3 separate regions of the Homo sapiens genome follow, and regions 1 and 2 are each linked to region 3. Evidence: promoter capture Hi-C in human tissues and cell types (Jung and others, 2019). All regions are on one chromosome and are shown on one strand. The core of a region is centred on a gene start or on the middle of the fragment in contact, and the rest is flanking DNA. Distances in the headings are between cores, read along the strand shown.

Region 1 (3,431 bases), core at 149-2,648, 860 kb before region 3:
TGAGCCACCACACCCAGCCCACATACTACTTTTATGGTTCTCTTTTTGTTGGTGACTGGCATTTTACACAAACCTATTTCCTGGGTCGAAGTGTTAATATTAGAGAGCCGGAGAGTGGTCAGTGTGACACCCTGTGGTTTCAACCCTGGCTGCCTATTAGGATCACCTAGGGAACGAACCATCAAGAAAACAAAACTAATGCCAGGGCCCAATCTGAGATGAATCAGAATCTCCAGGGGTTGCAACCTGGATGGCAGCATTTTAAAAAACATACCATGAGATTTCACCAGGATTGAAAATTATTATAATAGACTTGTAGCCTCCTGGCTGGGCACAGTGACTCATGCCTGTAATCCCAGCACTTTGGGAGGCTGAGGGGGGCGGATCATTTGAGGTTAGGAGTTCAAGACCAGCCTGGCCAACATGGTAAAACCCCGTCTCTACTAAAAATATAAAAATTAGCCGGGTATGATGGTGCATACCTGTAATCCCAGCTATTCGGGAGGCTGAGGCAGGAGAATCGCTTGAACCTGGGAGCTGGAGGTTGCAGTGAGCCGAGATCGCGCCACTGCACTCCAGCCTGGGTGACAAAGTGAGACCCTGTCTCAAAAAAAAAAAGGCTTGTAGCCTCCTTAAGGACAGAAACCTATGCTTTTTCATTTGTGTATCTCTTGGATTTACCAAAGTGTCTGGCACATCCAAAGCTCTCATTAAATGTCTACTTAATGAACATAAATGTTCCTTTATCTTTTTTGTCACTTATTTAATGTTTGTCAAACTTTTTTACTGAAGTGTCGTTAACAGCAGAGGAGAGTGAATGAACTATAGGGGTTCTGCTACTATAAGCAAACATGGAATTTCTTTGAAGCTTCCCTAAATTAAAATGTAAGGTGAACTTCGTATTCGTTGCCATTGCATCTGTTTTATGGGTAACACCCCCACTCCTTCGAGTTAAAATTGGTGCCTCCAGGCAGATGCATCAAATTTGTCCAGAAACTTGTATCCTTTGGCATTCTGTTAATTACCCTGGTTAAGAAGCACAGTATTACCTTTTCTTCAGGGATTAAAACACCAAAGTAGGAGTAGGATTTGGAAAAAAGCAATTTACATTGCTTAAAAAGAAAAGAATTATATTCTTTTCTTTTTAAGAAAGAAGAGGAGTGGTTAGAAAAATAAATTTGGCCAGGCGCGGTGGCTCACCCCTGTAAGCTCAGCACTTTGGGAGGCCGAGGCGGGTGGATCATCTGAGGTCAGGAGTTCAAGACCAGCCTGGCCAACATGATGAAACCCTGTCTCTACTAAAAAAAATACAAAAATTGGCCGGGCGCGGTGGCTCATGCCTGTAATCCCAGCACTTTGGGAGGCTGAGGGGGGCGGATCACGAGGTCAGGAGATCGAGACCATCCTGGCTAACACAGTGAAACCCCGTCTCTACTAAAAATACAAAAAATTAGCTGGGCGCCGTGGCGGGCGCCTATAGTCCCAGCTACTCGGGAGGCTGAGGCAGGAGAATGACGTGAACCCGGGAGGCGGAGCTTGCAGTGAGCCAAGATGGCGCCATTGCACTCCAACCTGGGGGACGAGAGCGAGACTTCGTCTCAAAAGAAAAAAAATTAGCCGGACATGGTGGCAGGTGCCTGTAATCCCAGCTACTCAGGAGGCTGAGGCAGGAGAATCGCTTGAACCCAGGAGGCGGAGGTTCCAGTGAGCCGAGATCGCGCCATTCATTGCACTCCAGCCTGGGGGACGAGAGCGAGACTTCGTCTCAAAAAAGGAAAAGAAATTCAAGTCCCATAGACTCAGAGTCCCATAAATTGTATTATAGCTTCGCGGGGCAGGGGGGAAATGAACAAATATTTCAGTCTTAGAATAATTTTCTTTTTCCTTTCTTTTTTTTTTAATACGGAGTCTCTCTCTGTTGCCCAGACTGCGTGGTCTCGCCTCACTGCAACCTCTGTCTCCCGGGTTCAAGTGATTCTCCTGCCTCAGCCTCCCGAGTAGCTGGGATTACAGGCACCTGCCACCACGTCCGGCTAATTTTTTGTAGTAGAGACGGGGTTTCACGATGTTGGCCAGGCTGGTCTCAAACTCCTGACCTCATGATTGGCCCGCCCGGCCTCCCAAAGCGCTGGGATTACAGGGGTGAGCCACCGTGCCCGGCCTCTTAGAATAATTTTCTAGGTAAGGACTTTCAAGCTTGCATACGTGAGCAGACTGATTTTGGAGTGATCCAATCTTCTGTTTTCCTGCTGCCTGTTAAACACATTTTCTGACTGATGCACTTTTCTGTTTCTTCTTTTTCTCTGCTTTTCCCAAATGTCCTCTCTCTAGCCACTTTTTCTGTATATCTTTCTCACACTCCAGGCCTCTCCTGATCTCTTTCAGCTTTCTCATAGCTGGTAGTTTAAAAATAATTTGCTTGTTCTGTGGTCTAATTACAACAATAGGTAGGAGAGCAAATGAGTCTAGAGGGAGGTGATTAAAGCTTTACCATGTTTGGAGTACAGAGAGAGTCTTACAAAGGAAATAGCCTACGTGTCTGTCCAGTGAGGCCACCACAAAATGCCTGTTATATAACTGGGGGCCCTCATTGGTGCCCCGGGATGAGAAGGTGGAGAGTGGGGGTTGCTAGGAAGCCCTGCATGATTGGCTGGCCCCCAAGCAAAGAAAGGTGAGTACACTGGAAGCATGCCCTGTTGACTCCTTTTACTCCTAGTGGGCTACCTTCTGGGTCCATTGAGTCCTTCTGCATACACGTCTGTCCTGACGTAGACTGGCTACACTGACATGTGAGTCTGCCACCCGCACCTCCCCCCGCTCCAGGCAGCTTGGCTCCTTTTACATAATCATTTGAATTTCACTAAAACTGGCAGCTGGTTTCTCCTTCAGTATTAGGTTGCCAGGCGCCCGAACTCCAGGCTGATCTGTTTACTCTAAAGCTCTTGATGTACTAGTCCTTGAACTACTTTTGGAAGCAGAAGGAAGCATCATTAGTAACACCCCCTCTATTCTTGTGTTTTACAAAGCTTTTCTTGCATCCTTTTCTGTTAGAGGTAAAGTTGAGTAGATACCTCTACTATAGGGACTCTGGGGCATTTGAAGATAATCTGTGCCTTTTTTAGTATGACTAGAACGTGTCGGGTAAGGGAGGGAATCCTCACCTGGCATCTTGGAATTTATTTGGTCTGTGTTTTGGAAGTAAGTAGTACATCCAGGGAATGCCATTTACCAACCCCCATCATTATATTCTTTCTTTTCCCTTCACCATTCTTATGTTCTTTTGTTATTCTTTTTCCTTGTCTTGCCCTTTTGCCTGACAGTACAGGCATTTCCTTGGTAAGATGATCACCTTTGTTTTAGAAGCCTTTTGGAACTCCAGTAGGGTTCCTTGAGTCATACTCAACCCCTTCCTCCTCTTGCAGTGTTGTTTC
Region 2 (3,459 bases), core at 49-2,548, 800 kb before region 3:
AGGGACAGAGCGAGACTGTATTTTAGAGCCTTTGCACTTGCTGTTCCTAATGCCAGCATGTTCCGCTCCCCGTCTCGCATATCTGCTTGGTTGCTTTTTTCTCAATGTTCAGATCGAGTTATTTCTTTCGAGAAGACTTCCTGGTTCACCATACCACCATTCTTATACTGGCGCGTGCGTGCCGTGCACACGTACACACACGCGCGCACACACACACACCCCTTTCTCCCTTACCCTGCTTCACCTTTTTACAGAATTTAATACTGTCTGAAATGTACTTGTTGGTGGTGTCCTGCCACTAAATCCCGGAGGGAACGGATTTTTGTCTGTTTTGCTCCCCATGATCTAAAACAGTACTTGGCACAAGAGGTTCAACAACTCGTTGAATTAATGAATAGTGGACATGAACTTGACAAAACAGGTTCCCTGCCTCAAGAGGCATGGCCGCAGTGAGGAGACGTTAAAAGAATTAAAACTGTATATGTTTAGTGGGAACACAGGAGCCTTTAAATTAGCTCAGAGGATTTACATAGATACCTGCGATAAAATGGTTCGTATAAGGTTCATATAATAGTTACGTAAGACTCTTGAAAACTGTAATGTATTATGCAATTTTAAGATTGTATCATAGCTGGCGAAAATGAGGTCACATCTTGCCATTCTTTTTTCGCCTCGAAAAATTTTATGAGGAAAATTTCCTTTCACTTCCTCATTTATTTCCTTTTCCTGTAACCTAAATGGTCAAGCGGCTGTGAATGTTATCTTCTATGGGCAGCAATAAATACGGTTTGGTGTCGGAGTCTGCGTAGTGAATGGCTCACTGGATCTGGCGCATGCGCATCTTTTGTGGTGCCGCAAGATGGCTGCCAGCCATTTTGTCGCGCGTTGCTCCTCCGAGGAGTTGGGGGCGATGGCTGCAGCCCCCTGAAGACTAACAGTGGTCTCAGTGGTGGGAATTTTCTGTCTCTGTTGTGTGAGCTGAACACACCCAAGAGAGCGGCCAAAAGCAGCAAAGGGCGGGGCAGGGGAACCCCCCCACCCGGCTAACCTTAGTTATACCAGCTCCCTCACCCATCCCTCCCAGTTTTTCCTTCCATCCCGTTACACGCTTATCTTCTGCGCAGGCGCAAAAATAATCGTAGCGCCTCCTGGGCCCTGGGGGCTTCAGAGCTCCTGCGCGCGCTTGTGGTTCTCCACTCCTGATTGGTCAGGTTGCCCCGCCATCACGCCTCCCTCTGCTTTCAAGGTTGAGAAGGAAGCAGGGGTAGGGGGGTGGGGCCAAGTGGCGCGTGCGCGATACTGTTGCTGCCCCTTTGCTGCTATTGCGTTGCAAAAAAAATCCTGACTAGGTAGCCTTGGACCTTTTCTGTGCTAGCGAGTCTAAAGGAAAGAAAGATTTCTGCAACTGAAGGGGCAGTCGGGTAGTATTACATTTAAGATATTAACGCCCGACCTGGCTCACAGGAGTGTGGGAACAGGGGCGGGGAAGGGCCTTAGCACTGAGAGCCGAAAAGTATAAAACGATTAGTTTCGGCGTCAGGCGTTTTGAAAGGCTTTGCAGGTCCTGTTTTCTGCGTAATTTTTCCGTGATTACTGACTGGTTTAAACACGACCCCTTGAACAATATTGATAAAACCTCCGAGACCCGCAGCCCCTCCTTGCAGCGTGTAGGAGCTGCCAGCGTGCCCAGCAGCTGGTGTTCCCGTCCGTACCTCCAGAAGAGCCCAGCGCGTGCACCATCCCCACCCCCTAGCTTCCCTCCCCACCTACGGCTTTCACGCACTCGCAGTGATTGTTTTGCCCGCTCCCGCCGCCGCCGCCGCCGCCGCCGCCAGAGGAGCAGCAGCGCTTGTGCAAACCGGGAAGATGGCGGCCGGCGGCGGCGGAGGCAGCAGTAAGGCCTCCTCCTCGTCGGCCTCTTCGGCAGGGGCTCTGGAGTCCTCGTTGGATCGAAAATTCCAGTCGGTAACCAACACCATGGAGTCCATTCAAGGCTTGTCGTCTTGGTGTATAGAGAACAAAAAACACCACAGTACTATCGTCTATCATTGGATGAAGTGGCTCCGGAGATGTGAGTGTTGGGGGTGACTAGGGAAGGGAAGACTGGGGAAATGGAAGGAAGTGTGGCCTGAAACGCTTGGGGTTTTCCCACGGAGCCGCAGCATTTGGTTGGGGTTGTTCACATTAAAGGTTTGACCCCAGTGGTCCCAAACCCAGACTCCATTCCTAGCCAGGATTGTCCTGAATTGCAGGAGACTCATTTCTTGGGTTTTTTAGCCATTGAATTGTTGTGACCTTGGGCCGTTGGGCCCAGATCCATGGAGATTTACGTATATTGTTTTTAATATTTCAGAGCCTTGTAAGGTGTATTGATTTTTCCGAACCTTCGCGGAAATTGTAGCGTCTGTTTATTTCTTACAGGCCTTGACGTGTTAATGATTTCTGGCTTTCCTGATGGTAGGCGAGCTGTGGTTTTAAGCAGTAGTAAATCCAGTGATGTTTAATGAGGAGTGCCTTGTCTGGATGAATGTATCTAAAACTTGTGATGTGTAGTAAGGAGAGCCTTACCTGGATGAATGTTAAGAAGCAGCATGAGCTCTACATAGATCTGAGGCACCACCGGGTTTTCCCTGTACCTGTGTTTGCTGCAATAAAATACAGGTTTCTTGGATACTGACCAGAAACAACTGCGATACAGTAGTCAGTATCATCGTTAATACCTTCAAATATAAAGCGTGTCCAGTTCCTCTTTTTTTTTGAGACGGAGTTTTGCTCTTGTCGCCCAGGCTGGAGTGCAGTGGCGCGATCTCGGCTCACTGCAACCTCCACCTCCCGGGTTCAAGCGATTCTCCTGTCTCAGCCTCGCGAGTAGTCGGGATTACAGGCGCCCGCCACCATGTCCGGCTAATTATTTGTATTTTTAGTAGAGACGGGGTTTCATCATTGTGGCCTGGCTGGTCTCGAACTCCCGACCTCAGGTGATCCACCTGCCTCGGCCTCCCAAAGTGCAGGGATTACAGACGTGAGCCCCCCGTGCCCGGCCCCGTTACTTTTTAATTACCTGAAATACCTTTTTACACAATTGAGTTGATCTCATGGGTAATGTGCACAGGAAATGTGCTTTTTGAATATGTAGTACCTTTTTCTCCAGTTATGTTTTTTTTGTCTTTATCCTGGAGATTTTTCCATTTTGCTGCTTTACTGCAGAAACGAGCTCTGTTAAAGCATGGATTGTTTGCAGAACGTTTCAAATCTTATAGGAGGAAGTGTGGAGAAGTTACTGTTTCCTGCTGAGAAGAGAGGGTTAACTCATACTCCATATACATCTATTAGAATTTTTCTTTGCTTCCTGCCTGCGGCATTTCACCAGTGAGACCCATCATCCAGTTATTCTGCCTTATTCCACTTCTGCCATTGCTCCTGTAGTGTTTTGATTTGTTTACCTTTTAGAGAACAGAT
Region 3 (3,384 bases), core at 823-3,322:
CCACAGCCCCTTTCCAACTGAAATTTAATCTTTTCTGATTTCCTATCTTTGTGTGTGTGTGTGTGTGTGTGTGTGTGTGTGTGTCTCACTCTGTTGCCCAGGCTGGAGTGCTGGAGTGCAGTGGTGCGATCTCAGCTCATCGCAACCTCCCCCTCCTGGGTTCAAGCGATTCTCCCGCCTCAGCCTCCTGAGTAGCTGGGATTACAGGTGAGCACCACCACGCCCGGCTAATTTTTGTATTTTTAGTAGAGACAGGGTTTCACCATGTTGGCCAGACTGGTCTCGTACTCGTAACCTTAGGTGATCCACTTGCCTCTGCCTCCCAAAGTGCTGGGATTACAGGGGTGAGCCACCATGCCTGACCCCTATTCGTTGTTAATACCTTTACAAACTCACCACATTCTGTCACTTGTAATCATTATTTGTGTCCCTGTTCATTTCTCATTAGGCCATAAATTACATGAGGACAGCAACCATATAGTTTAAGTTTCTATCTCCCAGAAAAGTTATCACAGTGCTTTAAATACAGCAAGCATAAAAATGTTGGCTAAATTCAACATTTGTTTGAGTGAGATGGAACAAGAAAACAGGGGCAGGGATAGGGGGAGTAACCCCATCAACTTCAATGCTGTACATTTTTACATCTATCCAATTTCCCCCATGCATGACCTGAAATACTTGGTGTAGAGTACCTGTTTTGCACAAAGGAGGCCACCTTACTGGAAAGAAGGCAGAGCATTGAGGAGGAACCAAGAGCAAGGAGAGGTGGGCACTTTAGGAACTGAGAACTAAAAATCAGCTCTCCATTAGTTGCTGTAAACGTTTAATCACTCTCAACATAAAATTTTCTGTGTGGTTAATAGAGTCAGACAGACCTGTTTGAATCCCAAATCTGACGCTCATTATTTGACCTTAGCCAAACTGGTTAACCAATCCAAGTCTCAGTTTCTTCATCTGCCAAAAGGGAACGATAAATGTATACTTGATACAGATGTGAGGGTGAAATGAGCTAACGTATGTGAAGCCCTCAGCACAGTGTCTGGCATAATAAAATAGGAGCTGTTCCTCTCCGTTGGAATAGTAGGGCAGGACTTGTGCAACACTGTGATGGGAAAACAAAGATAAAGGCAGAACAGAGTGCAACACATTAGGAACATTTCAGGGGAGGTTACCTAGAAGGGCCACTACATTCTTCTCAGGACTAAATCCCTCCTGACTGTTGTCTTCACCCCAATCCTGGAAAACTCACCGTCACCCCATATTTGAGTGCTAGTCCAGCCAGGGTGTCTCCGGGCTCCAACTGATGCTCCAGGCGTCTTTCCCTCACTGGGGAGCAGGCCGATTGCACCAGGCTTCCATATGAACGAGCCCGGCTCCCTTGAAGCAGTCCTGACCCCCCTGGCGGGGGCTGTCTAGACGGGGAAGCCATCTCTTCACCCTGCCAACAGCTAAGGTTGCAACTAGGGGAGGTACGACCGAGACTGCGACTGACAGGCCTGAAGTCTGGGAATGAATATTCAGGGGATTCCTTTCCCCCTCTCTCTTCCCCTGTGTCCCCGCCTCCCCAGCACTACGCCATCTGCCCCCTCCCGGTTTCTCCTCCCTCCAAGCTACTTATCCACAAATCTGTCCCTTGAGTATTCAGTCCCTCCCTAATTCTCCCCTAAGCACCCCTCCGACTTTGGACTCCCCCACAACTCCTCGCTACATTGACCTCTGACCTTTGAACTCTAGAAATAATCCTCAACACTCTTTCCTCAGTTTGCCCCCAAGTAGCCTGGCCTCAGGGCGCTCCAACATCCCAGCTCTCCCCGGTCCCGGGGTTTGTTTGCTAGAGTCAGGAACAAATCAGGCCCACCCCAGGTGAACTGTCGCCGCAGACGAAGAGCGTGAGGATTGCAAGAATTTGTAGTACACCTTCCACTCAGAGATCCTCAAAGGTCCGCTCCGCATAAGATAGGTCACACCCTCAAATTTCGGCTCCACATCTAGGTTGTTGTCCCTCCAAACGCCTCAGATCCGCCAAGATGCAAGGGCCTGGATCCAGTTGAGCGGCAAGGTCTTTGAGAAAAGACTTCATTTCCCAAAAGGCTCCGCGTCTGCGGAGTCGCAGGGCACCATAGGAAATGCAGTTCCCTCCGAGCACCAGAGAGTGGATTTCCGGATCGCGCAATGCATGCGTGGAAGTGCGTCCCCGGAAGTACGGAGGCCGACAGGAAGAGAAGGAAAAAAGAGAAGGCGCTGTCCCGCTCTTGCTACGGTGGCCTGGAGGAGTGGCGAAACCGGAACAGAGAATTTATCACTTCTGGGACTCACAGTCGTGATGTCTTTCAAGAGGGAAGGAGACGATTGGAGTCAACTCAATGTGCTCAAAGTAAGCGTGAGCGGAGAGGATCTGGAGCCGCTTCAGTCGCTCCCTGAAGGTTGGGAAGGAGCTTTGTTTCATTGCTCTGGCAACAACTCGGGGGTGCAGGAGAGAACCAGGCGACTTAGAGCTGTGTAGTGACTCCTTTTTCGGTCTATGATCGCTGTTCTCCCCAGGGTCCTTATTCCATTTCACTCCTCATTTCTATAATTTCACTTCCACCCCTCTCTCCTATCCCGCTGATCCCGTCCGGATTTCTTCCCCTACTCCCTGCAGAAAAGAAGAGTCGGGGACCTCCTAGCCAGTTACATTCCAGAGGATGAGGCGCTGATGCTTCGGGATGGACGGTAAGAGCAAGGAGTGGCTCAAGCCTGAGGGTTCTGCGGTTAGAGGCTCAATAGACTTTTTTTTTTTTTTCCTTTGAGACGGAGGTCTCGCGGTGCTGCCCAGGCTGCCCTCGAACTCTAGGGCTCAAGTGATCCTGCCTCCTCAGCGTCGCGATTAGCTGGGTTTACAAGCGCATGCCACCACGCCTGGCTTCAACAAACTTTTGTTATTAATTAGGACAGCAGGAGTACCTAGGATTCTTTGGCGGCCAGTGAGGACTGGAAGAAGTGGAGATTGGGTCACCAGGGAGTTGGGTTTTGCAAAGACTGCTAGGACAGGGTGGGACCTATGGCAGGGACGGGCCCAACCCTCTTCCCCTGGACCACTTATCCTCTTCTCTACCCCTGCTCAGCTTTGCTTGTGCCATCTGCCCCCATCGACCGGTACTGGACACCCTGGCCATGCTGACTGCCCACCGTGCAGGCAAGAAACATCTGTCCAGTAAGTTAGGGGGAAGACGGGATGGGGAATAAACCCTCGAAATCTCTGCACACCACTCTTGGTGCTATGCTTTTAATTCTGTTTCCCTTTCTCCTCAGGCTTGCAGCTTTTCTATGGCAAGAAGCAGCCGGGAAAGGAAAGAAAGCAGAATCCAAAACATCAGAATGAATTGAGAAGGGAAGAAACCAAAG

Evidence for each region. The method cuts DNA at HindIII sites, captures the fragments that hold promoters and counts their contacts. A contact is called where the count stands out against the background at its distance.
Region 1: a contact is called between a fragment that was not itself captured here and the fragment with the promoter of LYSMD1 in region 3, in 3 of the 25 tissues and cell types used here (dorsolateral prefrontal cortex, lymphoblastoid cells and spleen).
Region 2: the fragment with the promoter of RPRD2 here is called in contact with the fragment with the promoter of LYSMD1 in region 3 in 1 of the 25 tissues and cell types used here (dorsolateral prefrontal cortex).

Annotation. Positions count from the first base shown.
Region 1 is chr1:150,299,736-150,303,166 of GRCh38, forward strand. The region is part of intron 2 of MRPS21 (mitochondrial ribosomal protein S21); the gene reads left to right. Among named protein-coding and RNA genes, the nearest start is that of MRPS21, 7.6 kb to the left of the region's middle. The HindIII fragment of the contact is 5,855 bases long and covers 1-3,431 here.
Region 2 is chr1:150,362,849-150,366,307 of GRCh38, forward strand. It overlaps RPRD2 (regulation of nuclear pre-mRNA domain containing 2), which reads left to right and starts at 1,299. Exons shown (of 11, transcript NM_015203.5): 1 at 1,299-2,071. The coding sequence starts at 1,867. RefSeq lists enhancers at 1-536, 517-586, 747-1,056, 1,807-2,086, 2,570-2,859. The HindIII fragment of the contact is 19,991 bases long and covers 1-3,459 here.
Region 3 is chr1:151,163,830-151,167,213 of GRCh38, forward strand. LYSMD1 (LysM domain containing 1) reads right to left here and starts at 2,073. Exons shown (of 3, transcript NM_212551.5): 1 at 1,250-2,073. The coding sequence starts at 1,429. It overlaps TNFAIP8L2-SCNM1 (TNFAIP8L2-SCNM1 readthrough), which reads left to right. Exons shown (of 7, transcript NR_144937.2): 2 at 2,642-2,712; 3 at 3,105-3,193; 4 at 3,292-3,384. It overlaps SCNM1 (sodium channel modifier 1), which reads left to right and starts at 2,315. Exons shown (of 7, transcript NM_024041.4): 1 at 2,315-2,374; 2 at 2,642-2,712; 3 at 3,105-3,193; 4 at 3,292-3,384. The coding sequence starts at 2,324. RefSeq lists enhancers at 1,555-2,260, 2,014-2,293, 2,261-2,967, 2,314-2,363. The HindIII fragment of the contact is 12,820 bases long and covers 1-3,384 here.